2 separate regions of the Homo sapiens genome follow, and region 1 is linked to region 2. Evidence: promoter capture Hi-C in human tissues and cell types (Jung and others, 2019). All regions are on one chromosome and are shown on one strand. The core of a region is centred on a gene start or on the middle of the fragment in contact, and the rest is flanking DNA. Distances in the headings are between cores, read along the strand shown.

Region 1 (7,120 bases), core at 2,107-4,606, 490 kb after region 2:
CTCCAACCTAGAGGTGCATATGGGATCACTTGGGCATCTTGTTAAAATGCACATTCTCATTCAGGAGATCAGGGATGGGCCTGAGATTCCAACAAATGATGCCTAATGTTGCTAGGCCATAGTTTGAGTGGCAAGGGGTTTTATGTGTTATCCCTCCTGAGATAGCAATGACATGTTCGAAGGAATGGCTCTCTAATATGGAACCCTAGGGAGGTGTTGGTGGAGGTGGCTGGGTATTGAGGACACTGGGGACTCTGGACTGGTCTCCTGGGTGGCTGCCTGCCTTTCTGTGCAGAAGGCTGGCTCAGCTTTCCAGCCCTGGCTTCTTAGCTCCCCACTGTTCCTCCTCAGCCAGGCTGTGGGTGGGAACATCTGGAAGGGATCCCCCGGAACTGGGGGAATTTCCAGGCACATGAGGCTCTGTCAACCCAGCCAGGAACATCCGCCCCTGCCATCTGCTCCAGACGTCATTGCAGAGTCTGTGTGAGAGGAACCCGACAGTTTCCAGCTCCTCCAAGGAGCGTCTGTCTGTGTCTCTGGGTCCTGCCCTGGGCATGTGAGGGGCCTGCCTCTGCTACTGCTGGGGGAGTCTGTTGGGGGCCTAAGTTCCCAAGTGCAAGTCCTGCGTTTTATCTGCTGGGAGATGAGGTGTCTCCAAATTCCAAAGATGCCCTGGGGGTCTTCCCTAGGACGATGAAGGAGGGAGAAGCTGCCCTGGTTGTTGAGAAGCCTCAGCCCAGAATTTTCTCACCCTCATGAGGCAAATTTGTCCAACACACGCTGTGCTCTGCCCTGTGCAACATCTCAGTAATAAATGCCCAGTTTTGTGCACTGATGGCCTGTGCACCGGAGGCTTTACAGCTTGACCTCACTTGATCTGCATGGAAACTGTGAAACTGCTCTTACTCTCACCTCCATACCGATAAGGATGAAGCAGCTCAGAAAAGTCAGGTTACCTATAGGAAGTAGCAGAGCCAGGATTTGAACCCAAAGTCACTGGATACCAAAGCCCAGTGTTAACTCTTCAGTTACATTGGCTCCTTACATATCCTCTAAGAGCAGGTGCTAGCTAAGAGCAGGACTGGATGGGACTCATCCAGCTGAAAGTCTTGCTTCTTCAAACTCCAAGACTTCTCCTGGAGCTTCTCCTCCAGCCCTGTGGGAAGCTCCCGGTCCACGGTTTGGGGTGGTTGTGCCCAGCCCTGTTCATCACATGCAGCTGCATAAGTCTGGGCAGCCTCTCCCTGTTAATGAGAGCGACGAATGACTCTCATCAAGTCTGGGAGTTACTCAGCACCAGAGACAGGTCTCTGGATGTGACTTCCTTCTTAAGAGCAAATGCAAACAGTGGAATGCCTAATCTCAAAGCAAGAGGCCTGGGTGCTCGCTTGGGAACTCCCAGGGGACTCCTGAGAGCAGCTGGCCCAGTCATGGGACGGTGGGGTGGGACAGCCAGGGCTTGGGGTCTGCTCTCTAAGGGAGCCGAGGCTGCAGCAGCTGTCCTCTCCATCCCCTAGCTCCACCGGGATAATTGACGGGGAGAGTATCACCTGATGTTAAAGCCCAGTGTTTATTCCTCTGTTACGTTTCGTTCTCTCTGCCACCATCTCTCAATCCAGCCTCTTAGCATGGGTGCCCCTAGCCCAGGAGCCCTATGCTGAGCTGGCAGGTGGGTTAACGAGTCTTAATGTATAGAACTTGTGCCAACCACAGTGTCGTAGACCCCGCAGGCCTCTAAAGGCCTGTCTGCCTCCCTACCCCTATCATGGGTCAGGCCGGAACTGCAGGACTCAGCAGGCACCATGGTGGCTTGGTCTGTGCCCGTCCTACCCTCTTTGTCTGCTGTGCCCTCAGCTTTAAACCTGAGCCGGGCAGTTGTGACAAGGGAAGAGGGCTCCTTAACCACGATTTGCCAAGAGATGAAGGGCCCCTGAGGAAAGGCTTTTATTTCTGTATTTCAGTTTCACAGCTTGGGGAGATGGGAGATAGCTCATGTTCCCCTGAGGCTGCAAAAGTTCTATGACAGCCAGTCAGTGAGGCTGTTCCCGGTAATGGGAGGAGAGACATTGTCATTGAAGGGGCTGTGCCATCTCGCCTCTGGGGGAGGATGAGGCAGCAGCCCCGCTAGGACACGGGGCAGGGGACGGAATCTCAGCATGTCCGAAAGCAGGTCCAGGCAGTAGACTCGCTGTGTGCCCGGACCAGTGAGGCACTTCTCTGGGCCTCAGATCCCAGTGGGAGGAAGGAGGGAATAATGTCAGAAGTACAGAGAGTTGGTGAGAGAAGAGAGGCTGGGGAGATATCTGCAGGATGGAAGGGAGAAGGACAGGGAACTGGGAAGCAGGTAGCAGGCAAGGACTGAACAGGCCATGGTGTGCTGTCCCAGAGGCTGAAGGACCTCTCTCCATTGGCCCCATACTGCCTGCTGCTCCTGCCTCCTGGCACAGATGCCCCTGCTCTGAGAGACTGTGCAGAGAGAGCAGGTGGGTAAACAAGTCCTTATGTGTAGAATTTGTGCCAGCCACAGTGCCATAGACCCCACAGGCCTCCAGAGGCCTGCCTGCCTCCCTGCCCCACCCTACAGTGGGGGCCAATCTGCTTACATCTGTAGGATCCGCCTACCTCAATCCTGTTTCCAGATGGAGGGTATTTCTGGGGGTTGGTAGATTCTGTATCCAGTCACCTGTTATCTTCTTAGTTCTTTGAAACCCAACCTTCACCTTGGTCCCAGTTCCAGTCTTGGGTTTGGATCCCAGCTCTACAGCCGTCTACGTCTACACCTACCTTCTGCCGTGAGCCCCAAGTCCCTCTTTTTTTGAAATGATCATAGTAGTAGTGCCTCTCTCTTAGGGATCTTTGAGGATTAAATGAGATAACTGGAGCTCCCAGCAAAATACCCAGACATAGGGGTTCCATGATGGCTAGATCACTTCTCCCTCACCCCTCTCAATTAGCCTCTTTGGGTTGCGCTTGTTTCCAGAGGCCTGGGCCAGACAGTTAATAGTTAGGGTGTGTGGAGTGACTGCCCACTGCTGCCTTCAGCAGTAAAGGCGAGGGGAGGAACAAGAGCTGTCATTTATTGGACACTTTCAGAGGGCCAGACCATTGGCATGCAAGCATCATCATCCTCACACCAACCCTGTAAGGAGGATTTTATGAGCCCCTTTTTAGAGATGAGCAGACAGAAGCCCAGGCTTCTTGAATACCCTGCCTGGATCCCATAGCCAGTGAGTGGTGGAGACTGAATTCAGATCCAGCCCCCATTCCCAAGCCGGCTGGGCCCTTGCCACTGTCCCACTCAGTAAGACACAGTGACACTCAGGGGCTGGGTGGCCAAAGGCCACCGGTACCAGGTGAAGAGCACCTATTCTGGAGGCAAAGTCCTCAAATTATCAAAGCTAGGGCAGCAAAGCATGCTCAGATGAACACAGAAACCCAGAGGGGGACAAGGCAAATTATTCCAGGGACCCAAGACCTGCAGGGACGGAAGACTGGTGGGTGGAGACCCAGGTACAGCAGCACCCACAGGACACGGTGCTCCCTGTAGTGCAGGGAAACGCTGGAGAAGCCGGGCCAGCGTGCCCGGGAATGCGGAGGGAGAGGGCCTGTGCTCCTCCTTCTGAGAAACACATGGTTTCCCCAATCTAACAGCGGCCAAAAGGAAAAACTATGTACTCTACAAAATCCACAGTATACACACGACCCGCCAACATTTCAGCATCATCTCTCCGAGAGATCTCTCCCAGAATCCCGCGAAAGAGCCAGGCAACACGCACACTTGCCCAAGGTCAAAGACACTATTCCAGGTATGAATTTTATGGGTAACCAGATGACACTTGAAGCGGCTCAGAAGTTGGCGTGAGAAAAGTCCCCAGTTGTTATTACTTAGTGCGGCCTGGGAGGAAGAAAGGATTCTTTGTAGAGCAATGAAAAGGACCCAGATAGAGGCAAGCCCCTGCCCTCCTGAGCAGAAATCGTCTTTTCCATCAACAGTTTGTGCTCTGCACCGCCCAGCCTCATTGTTCTGTGGCATTCCGCCGGGGGCAAGAACACATTGGGATGCCTCGCCTTCTCAGCACACCGCTGCCTGGATTTCTGTGCAAGGACTTGAATGTAGATTTATCCTAGTCGTCATTATTTAGAAATATTTTGACAAAGTAGTTTATTTAAAGGTACTATGAGTCCCCTCCCTGTTTTTTGCTGTTTATCTTTTCTTTTAAATTTTCTCCCAGAAACAGTGTAATCCTCTAACACAGTTTGCATTGTAAGGCCAGGACAACAACACTGAAATGCAGCGGTGGGGGCCAGGTAGACACATAGGGCACATATCCCCAAGAGAGGCATAAATCCAGGTGGCCGCCAGCACCGAGGGCTCCAAGGCCTGCCATGGCCACAGCCCCTGGGGTATGCTCCTCTCCATCCTCCACCTCCATCTGGGCCAGCACCTGGGCTCTGGTGGTGAGGTGCTAGGACCTCTTTCCACTCCAGAGGGCCAGGGACCAGGATACTCAATAAGGATGTGTTGAGGAGCTGGGGGTATCTGGTGCAGAAGACCAATGAGTCCAGTCGAGGAGCGCTGATTCAGGAAACAAAACACCCAAAATGTCAAAGCCAGGACAGCAAGGCGTAAAAGAGACCGTCTCGACCTTGAAGGGTTTACATTTCCAGCTAAGTAGGTGAGACAAGCATTCTGACATGTTACTGAGGCTGCGGCCTCCATGCAGAAGGCAGTGACAGTGACAGGAAGGTTGTCAGGTTGACTAACATGGGAGAGGGGGTAAAACACACAGCTGCTGCCCTCAGGTGAGTGGCAGCTGGCGGGGGGTGGCATGATCCCAGCATGGCTGCCTTCCATTCTCTCCTTTTCAGTGTCACTTGTCACTCCTCCCGTTGAGGGGTGGAATCTGTGCCTCCCCTCTGCTTGAATCAGGGCTTCTCCCTAGTGATTTGCGCAACCTATAAAATGTGGCGGAAGTGATGTTCAGGATTTCTAAGGCAACGTCCTAAGAACCTTGCAGCTTCTGCCTGGAACTCTAGAGACTCTTGGCACCCAGAGACCTCCATGCAGTGAGGAAGCCCAAGGTGGCCACGAGGAGAGACTGTAGGGGGAAGAGGGTGGAGACCTGTCTGGCCCCCCATTCCTGTTCCCAGCCATTTGAGCCATCCGAGCTTCAGCCATAAACATCCAGGGGCAGAGAGGAGCCATTCCCTCTGTGCCCTGTCCAGGTTCCTGATCCACAGAATCGTGAGACATGATAAAAGCAAAGTATTGTTTTAAGGCACTGAGATTGGGGTTATGTGTGCCATACGTACATCCACAGATAACCAGAACTGGGTGAGGGGACATATGCCAGGGCCAGGGACTCTGTTGACCCAACCCTTTCTCCTTGAGACCACACCTGCCCTCTCTGGCCCCAGACTCCTCCACCATGGCCTCCCTAAGTGCTGACACTCCCATCCCTGGGACCAATCCCAATGCCTGGGCACTTCCATCCCTGGGACCAATCCCAATGCCTGGGCACTTCCCCTTTGAACCCCAATTTGAGAGCAGATTTGCTGCTGAGGTTGGGGGGGAACTAGGGGAACCCCGGGACGGGACAAAGATTCTGGGTAACCACCTCTGGGGCAGGTGTGGGGAGACTGGCCGGGGCAAGGAAGTGGCTGCACAGGGGAAGGAGTGAGCCGTGTGCGCATGGATGGGGGAAGGAGTGAGCCGTGTGCGCATGGATGGGGGAAGGAGTGAGCCGTGTGCGCATGGATGGGGGAGGGAGTGAGCCGTGTGCGCATGGATGGGGGAGGGAGTGAGCCGTGTGCGCATGGATGGGGGAAGGAGTGAGCCGTGTGTGCTCGTGGCTGTGTGCCTTCCTCCATGGAAGAGCTCCCTCGTGCCTGTCTTCCAGAACTCAGGTCCAGCGTTTCCAGCCACCTGCTGGACTCTCCTCAGAACCTCCCACAGGCCCCCCAAATCCAGCACATCTCAAACCAGAACCTGCTCTAAACCCACCCCCAAGGCAATTCCCTGTCATTCCCTATTTCTGCCAAGGGTGCTGAAGTCACCAGGGCCCGTCCAGGTGTGGGCAGCCAACCCTCTAGTGGAGCTGGAGCAGCAATACCTTGCCCACATGGCAGGTGGAGATAGGGGGACCTGTGGGTAGGGACTGAGGTGGGAAGAGTTGTGGCGAAGGAGGTGGGCAGAGCCTGGCCAAGCTCATAGGCAGCCCTAGGATTCCTCCCGGAGAGGTAAGGGGCTTTGGGCTGTGTCCTGGGGGCTGGAGATACCCACAGGAGGCTAACAATAGCTCATCCAGCCTCAGCATCCTCTCTGCCTCTTTGCCACCCCCTTTTGCTCCTGGAGCAGCCATAGGGAAACCCTGCAGCTTCCAGCTCTGCAGGGCCCTCATTCCCCTCCTTCCCCTTCCACTCCACCCATCGCCCGCCCCCACCTCCCCTAAGCCCAGCCTCCTACCACCCCCACACCCATTTGACCCTTTCTCTTCCCCCCTTCCCCTCAAGGCTGCCGACCCGCTGCCCACTGTGGGAGCCAGCTGCCGCCTGTGGCTGGGGACACTGGGAAGGGGGCTGGTGCCACTGGGGAACTACACTTTTAATTTGATTTGCATTAACCTAGATTTTAAAACTGATAATCAATTCGGTTATTGAAAAACTTTTAGGCTGGGTGTGGTAGCCTAAAAGGTGGGAGGATTGCTTGAGGCCAGGAGTTTGAGACCAGCCTGGACAACATAGCATGATCTCATTCCTACAAAAAATAAAAAAATGAGCCAGGCATGGTGGTGCACGCATGTAGTCCCAGCTACTTGGGAGGCTGAGGTGGGAGGATCGCTTGAGACCAGGAGTTTGAGTCTGCAGTGAGCCATGATTTTGCCACTGCACTCTAGCCTGGGTGATAGAGCAAGAACCTGTCTCAAACAACAACAACAAAAACCCTTTTAAATATGTTTGGAACAACTTGGGTATGTGAACCTACCTTTTCGACTGTAAATTTAACAAAATCTAACTGCAGATCTAGCTTATCCAGTGAAATCCTTGTGTGTGAATTAGCGCCCCCATAGTTGCCATATGTATAAAAGAAAGCAAAAAAAAGAATAACATTCTCATTAAT
Region 2 (7,118 bases), core at 3,080-5,579:
CATCACTGACTCCAGGCCAAGGCCTGCACCCCAGGTGTGTAATCTGAGGTGGTGCTAGCACCTATCCGACGATTTATGAGCTCAGATCACCCTCTGCAGGGGAGACTGACTCCTTGGGAACGTCCGCAACCCCAAACCCCTCCCTGGAGGCTTGTATCTTTTACTGCAGAAGCTGTTTCTTCACCCTGTGGGAGTGGGAAGCACCAGGCTGCCCTGTTCTCTGCTACCCAGGGCCATGCATAGGGGTTGATGGTGGGGCCATCATGACAACCCTGCCATCATGCAAGGTGGGTCCCCATCAGCCTGGGGTATGGCAGGAAGTGACAGCCCTGGCTCTGGCTGGGAAGAATCGCTCCCAGGATCATATTGGAAGGATGAGAATGTACTGCGGTCTCTTCCTAGAGATGTAGTGGCTGGAGGGAGGGGTCCTTGCATGGCTGGTCTTGGGATTGGGACCATCTGCTTCAGCCTGGTCTTGGGGGATGTATCAGCAGAGTGGCCGGCTCAATGATCTCTTCAGAACCCTCCACCTCCTTGACCACTATGCTTCCCTGGCTTCCTCACGTGTCTCTCTTCTCCCTCTCCAACTCCCCCTGTCCCAGGTCCTGCTGTTCCCCCAGGCTTCTGACCTCAGGGCCTTTGCTCCCTTTACAGAATTTCCCTGGGCAGTTTAATCAACACCCACAGCCTCAACCCCTCCATAAACGGCAGCTGGGTATGGACAGGAGAAGAAATTACTGTTGTGTGAGCCTCTTAACAGCACTGGGGGCTGGGAGAAAAAGTCAGACATTGACTCAGCTTGGGACCTCGTTGCCTGACTTGAGAATGTTCTATTAGGGATTCAAGTGATATTCTGCAGTATATGAAATAATTGAAATAATTTTTTTTGAGGCAGGGTCTCACTCTGTCACCCACGCTGGAGTGTAGTGGTGTGATCTCGGCTCACTGTAACCTCCGCCTCCTGAGATCAAGCGATTCTCCTGACTCAGCCTCCTGAGCAGCTGGGATTATAGGCATGCGCCACGACGCCCAGCTCACTTTTTGTATTTTTAGTAGAGATGGGGTTTCACCATTTTGGCCAGGCTGATCTCAAACTCCTGGCCTCAAATGATCTGCCTGCCTCGGCCTCCCAAAGTGCTGGGATTACAGGCATGAGCCACCGTGCCTGGCCGAAATAATTTCAATTTCCAGTGGTTTGTTGCTAGTATACAGAAATATATCCATCTTTTGTATCCTGCAACTATACTAAAATCTTATTTGTTCTCATAGCTTTTTTTTTCTTTTAGATTCTATCGGATTTTCTACATAGACAATAATGTGTGTGAGTCAAGACACTTTTACTTCTTCCCTCCCAATCTGGTTCCTCTTATTTTCTTTACTTGCCTAATTGCACTGGGGACAATCTCCATACAATGTTGAGTAGGAGTGCGTGTGTACATCCTCGCTTCGTTCTGAGCTTAGGGGAAAGTGTTTAGCCTTTCACCATTAAGGATGATGCTAGCTGTAGGTTTCTTCATGATGCCTTTCATTAGCTTGGGCATCTTTGTGAAGTTTCGTCTCTTAGATTGCTTAGTTTTAATTAGGAATGGATGCTGGATTTTGCCTAATGCTTTTTCTGCATTTATTGAGATGATCATATGGTTTTTCTTTAATATGATATTATATATGTTATACATAACATACGTTATAATACATTAACATATGAGTAATGTTATATTATTTGAGTGATAATTCTTTTATATTTTTATATTCTGTTTATGGTAAAATACATTGTTTTTTTTGAGACAGGGTCTCACTCTGTTGCCCAGGCTGGAGTTCAGTGGCGCAATTTCAGCAACCTCAACCTCCCTGTCTCAAGTGATCCTTCCACCTCACCTCTGGAGTAGCTGGGACTACACGTGTTCACCACCACCCCCAGCTAATTTTTGTATTTTTTGTAGAGATGGGTCTTGTTATATTGCCCAGGCTGGTCTTGAACTCCTGGGCTCAAGCTATCCACCTGCCGTGGCCTCCCAAAGTGCTAGATTATAGGTGTGAGCTACCATGCCCAGCTATAAATTTATTTTTTAAAATGTTAAATCAGCCTTGCGTTACTGGGATAAACCTCATTTGGTTGTGATATATTACCCTTTTTCTATGTTGTTGAATCTGATTGGCTTTTTTTCAGAATTTTCACATGCATATTCATGAGGGATATCGGTGTATAATTTTCTTTTCTTGTAATGTCTTTGTTAGGTTTTGATAGGGAGGATGGCTTCGGCCCGGGAGGCAGACGTTGCAGTGAGCCGAGATGGTGCCATTGCACTCCAGCCTGGGTGACAGAGCAAGACTCTGTCTCAAAAAAAAAAAAAAAAGGAGATGAGGTCTCAGTATGTTGCCCAGGCTGGTCTCAAACTCCTGAGCTCAAGCGATCTTCCCATCTTGGCCTCCCAGAGTGTTGGGATTACAGGCGTGAGCCACCATGCCTGGCCTAATTTCTTACCTCAAATTCATATCTTGTATGTCCAGACTCTTAAGTGTGGCTGCCACGGTTCTGCCTGTCTGACCCCTGTCTCCCTTTCTAGTCTGTCATCTCTCCATACCCCACTCTCCTCGCCCTATTCATCCTTCATCCTTTCACCCAAATGAGAAACCTGGGTCATTTGTGACTCCTCCTCCCTCCGCAGCTACTGCCCTCCTACCCCTGATGCTGTCCTCATCTCCCAGTACCAGAGCCAGCACACACCCATGACTTCCTACCCTTTGGCACTTGGTGCTGAGTGCTTTGCACATTCAGTCTTCATACCTACCCTATGCCCAGTTGGCCACGGCTCTCCTCTCACAGATGAGGAAACGTGTATGAGGTCATGCAGCTATTAAGAGCAGCACACGACCCAAAGGCAGGTCTGGCTGGCTCCAAACTCTGGGATGCTACTCACTGCACTGTCTTAAATCTCTTTAGTCTTCCAGTGGGACCACTGCAACTATGTCCCCCTCCAACCTGGATTTTCAATGACCTCAGAGTGAGCCTGCTACATCTCACTTGTCTCCGGTTACCCCCAGACTCCATGTGGCCTCTTGGTCTGATCTCTACCTTCATTTTTCATCTCTTGGCATCCAGCTTCCTGTCCCTCACCCTAAGCCGAAGCTACCCCCAGAGTACCGCAGGCCTTTCTGCACCCAGTGCCTTTGCAAATGCTATTTCTTATACCTGGAAAGCCTTCTTCTGGCAAAGTCCTACTCATGCCTGAAAGCCCAATTCAAATAATCAGTGTAATCCTCTCCATGACAGACCTGGCTGTCTAATCTACGTTTTACCTTACAGGCGTGAGCCACTGCACCCGACCTCTGGTTTTTTTTTTTTTTTTTTTGACAGGGTCTTGCTCTGTGGCCCAGGCTGGAGTGGCAGCATCATAGCTCACTGCAACTCCTGGGCTCCAGTGAGCCTCCCAGCTCAGCCTCCCAAGTAGCTGGGACTACAGGCTCATGCCGCCACACCTGTCTAATTTTAAACATTTCCTGTAGAGGACAAAGTCTCGCTATGTTGCCTAGGCTGATCTTGAACTCCTGGCCTCATGTGATCCTCCCACCTCTGCCTCCCGAAGTGTTGGGATTGCAGGCGTTGAGCCATCATGCCCACCTAATTTTTGACCGTTTTTAATGCTGGCCCATGCCCTTCTGGGAGAGAGGATCCCCAAAAGAAAGCCACCATTTCAGTGGGGGATCTGACGCCCCTATGGGAAGGGGAGACACAGGGCACTGGGGGCAAACATCTTTGCTCATTGGTTCAGAGAAGAGTACAAGGCATCAACGAAGCGCTCCGTAAAAATGTGCTGAAGACTGCCGCTCCTCCCTGCAAAGCCTCAAGCATCAAGGAGGGACAACTGGATGTGATTTTTTGGATCTGCAGTTCAGGATAATTCATGAGTCGTTTCCTGTGCACAAGGCCATTGCTCCTTCTGTGGTCTCAGAACCCCTTCAAGAACCACTGACTCTGCAGTCCCTACTCCAAGGCGCGCATGCGTGTCCGTGAGAGCACATGGGTGTGCACCGCGCAGGGGCTGAGGCTGGGAGCCGTAGTCAGGGGCACCGGGTGGGCTTTGGCGGCGGGTCGACCTGCCTTTCAGGTGCCGGGGGTTTGGGAGCAGGGGAACGGGCCCTGGGCGGATTCCTGACCGCCCCCTTCGCGCCCCTCCCCCTCTCACTTTCGCTTTCCCCGCCTGCCCCAACCCTCGCCCCCGGGCGCTCGGCCGCTCCCACCTGTCACCCCCATGCAGACCGAGGCTCTGTCCTGGAGGCGGGGAGCGGGCTGGTGGATGCTGCCTCTCCGCCTCCAGTGTGCTCTTTGGCTGAGGGACTGGTGGGCGCTGGAAATATTAGAGGCGCCGGTGCCTGTGATGTCGCCGCCTCTGTGACGTCCCCGCCGCGACCCCACAGGCAGGGAGCCGCATTTAGGTTTCGGGCGGGCGGACGGGGGACGGCCCGAGTGAGGCGTCCTCCGAAGGCTGCGGGCCCGAAGCCAGAACTCCTTCCTCTCCGAAGACCTCGGGGGTGGGGCTCGCGCTTCCGCAGCGGGCCTAGAGCGAGAGGCAGGCGGCAGGTAAGCCTGGCTGTGCTGGACAGGACTTGCACCCGCTCTGCACGCCAGCGGCTCAGGGCTGCCGCCCTTTTCGTGGTCCCAGGGCCCTTCCAAGAACCGGCTAAACCAACCCAAGCCGCGCGCACACACACTTGTGCACACAGGGAGTGTGGAGCCAGATTCGATAAGGCACCCCGTGTGCCCCAGCTCCATGACCAAGGAACTCAGCACCCCGTGTGCCCCAGCTCCATGACCAAGGAACTCAGCACCCCGTGTGCCCCAGCTCCATGACCAAGGAACTCAGCCCACAAAGGCATCCCTGGCCCCATGCAGGGCTCAGGAGGCAGCGGAAAGGGTTAAGAGTCCAGGCCTCAAGGACAGGAGGGGAGGGTGGAGGGCCTGTGGTGTGCATCCGGCATCCCTGGATGGTCAGGGCCCAGAACCCATCCCTATTTCCCTTCTGGTGGTAGGGGGCTGCCTAACTTGGGCAGTGGCACAAAGCATGCAGGCTTTGTTGTCCTCCTCCTCCACCCCTCAGCCTGGCATATTTTGGCGAGGGACTTCCCTGATGCCACCGGGCAAGGTATCTTGCCTAACTGGTCTGAATGACTAGCCCAGCGTTGGGACTAGAAGCAGCCACTGGGAGGAGTGGTGGGAAAGCAGCCCCACTCAAGGGCTGAAACAGTCCTTGTCCAAAACAAGGGGGACTTGAAAAGATCTCAGCAAGAAGGCAAAGAGAGGCAGCTGTTAGGGTCGTGAGGTTCAGCAGGCCGGCAGGCAAGAGAGAGGACACCGATGGCCTGGAAACATTTGTCATCACCCCAAACTTTATTGCTTACAAAGAGTTCTCTACAACCCAGACTCTGCAGTACCAAGGCTGCAGTTCTTTATGTGCTGGGGGCCGGGGCTCTCTCCCCGGGAGCAGTCTGACTCAATGTGGACAGCTGGACAAAGGCTGTCTTGGCAAGATGTGGGAATGAGCTTCTCCCACGGAGTCTCGGCGTCCCCTGCCCCAGGAGGTTGAGGCTAGCAGACACCCCCTGACGATTCACAGCTGATTTAATGCTACGTGAGTCCTGAGTAGCTCCCCTGGGAGAAGAGGCTAAGCTGGGGCAATGGGGAAGGGGGTGCTATTCTTAGAGAAATCTGGAAGAGGTTTGAGGAGTCACATGCATGTGGACAGCTCAAGACTGTGTCCCTTCACCCCATCTCCTGGCTTGCTATGCTCCTACAGTGTCACTGCCCTGCCCTGCCCTGCCAGAGGGCAGCCATGAAAGTGCTTTGAGGTCATCAGAGTGCAAAGTGCCGTCGGCAGTACCCTCTGGCCAGGGGCAGGGCAGGGTGAGTGTCAGTGTGATGCTGAGCTGTGCTCTGGGGAACCAGCACGCTGGACACTGATAGTGGGGCTGGGGCGCCGGAGCGTCTCTCTCTGCTGCTTTCCTTAGCACTGATCATGTCCATCCACAGACTGTTCCTGTCAGGCATATCCTGCATCACCCTTCACCTTTACAGATGAGGGAACTGAGTGCCAGCGAGTCTGGGGCAGTGCTGGGCCTGAAGGGGCTCGGGGCCTGCTGCTCTGGGGAAGAGTGGTAGCCAGCAGCAAAGGGGCACATGTCTGGGGACTGAGAACCACTTCACTTACACACCTTCTTTGGTCCTTGGCTGAACCAGAGGTCAACTCAGGACCTGTGTTGCAACAACCTGAAAAGTGTGGTGTATTCTACCAGGGAGCCTTCCCAGGGTCAGGCATTCTTTTCCCCTACACCCAAAAGGGGTGAGCTGGCCAGGTGAGGCCAGGCAAGGGGTTTAGAGGGCCCCCTTAACCTACGGGCGGGCATACCTGCTGACCTGGTTCTGCACTGAACCTGAGTTTGGGCCCTTACACACTTGACACTCTCACAGCAGCCTGGAGGGTGAGGGGCCGAGGGGCTCGCCCACCCCTTCTGACCCAGGCTGGAAGCTGCTCTCCCCTGTCTGCCAGCAAATGGTCACTGATCCAAGCGGGTCAGGCCAACTCGACTGGAGCAGGGCAGAGAAGATCCTGTTTGTTTCCCGAGGTAACTCCTGCCATCCTCCTCTGTCTCTTCACGTGGCGGAGTGTTTTCTCAGCAGGGTGGGGCAGGGCTCAGGTGTGAAATCCTGGGAGGCATTCTGCTTGCCCCCACCTTGCTGCTGCGAGGCCCTGGTCCCACTGCTGAGCCGGGGGCTGGCAGATCCCTGGGAACGGCTGAGCCTGTGTTTCAGGGCAGCATCGTGCACCGAGCAGGAAGGCTGCTTCCGGCAGTGTGGAGCCGGCGGTGGAGGGCAGGGTTAGGGCCTGTTCTCCAGCTGGCCATGCTTGACCCTCCAGCTCCAGGCGAAGCTGCCATCAGGGGCCAGTGTGCACTGCAGGTCGATGCCCGAGTCTGGCACCTCCATGTCGTAGCGAACAGGCTGCCCGTCTTTGGTGACCAAGCTGAAGGCTGCAGCTGGGATCTAAGGGTGGAGCAAACCAGTGGGCTGAGATCATGGCATAGGGCTCAAGCCATGTAGAAAGGTAAAGACATCTCCTTCCAGC

The links. Contacts are between HindIII fragments. The study calls those that stand out against the background at their distance.
Region 1: a contact is called between a fragment that was not itself captured here and the fragment with the promoter of SPATA32 in region 2, in 1 of the 25 tissues and cell types used here (dorsolateral prefrontal cortex).

What each region holds. Positions count from the first base shown.
Region 1 is chr17:45,747,681-45,754,800 of GRCh38, forward strand. The region is part of intron 3 of LINC02210-CRHR1 (LINC02210-CRHR1 readthrough); the gene reads left to right. Among named protein-coding and RNA genes, the nearest start is that of CRHR1, 33 kb to the right of the region's middle. RefSeq lists an enhancer at 3,953-4,864. The HindIII fragment of the contact is 8,319 bases long and covers 1-7,120 here.
Region 2 is chr17:45,257,765-45,264,882 of GRCh38, forward strand. SPATA32 (spermatogenesis associated 32) reads right to left here and starts at 4,330. Exons shown (of 5, transcript NM_152343.3): 1 at 4,240-4,330. The coding sequence starts at 4,252. MAP3K14 (mitogen-activated protein kinase kinase kinase 14) reads right to left here. Exons shown (of 16, transcript NM_003954.5): 16 at 5,355-7,036. The coding sequence ends at 6,872. All of the region lies in intron 2 of MAP3K14-AS1 (MAP3K14 antisense RNA 1), which reads left to right. RefSeq lists silencers at 3,974-4,093, 4,164-4,213 and enhancers at 4,162-4,767, 4,244-4,333, 4,768-5,371. The HindIII fragment of the contact is 11,872 bases long and covers 1-7,118 here.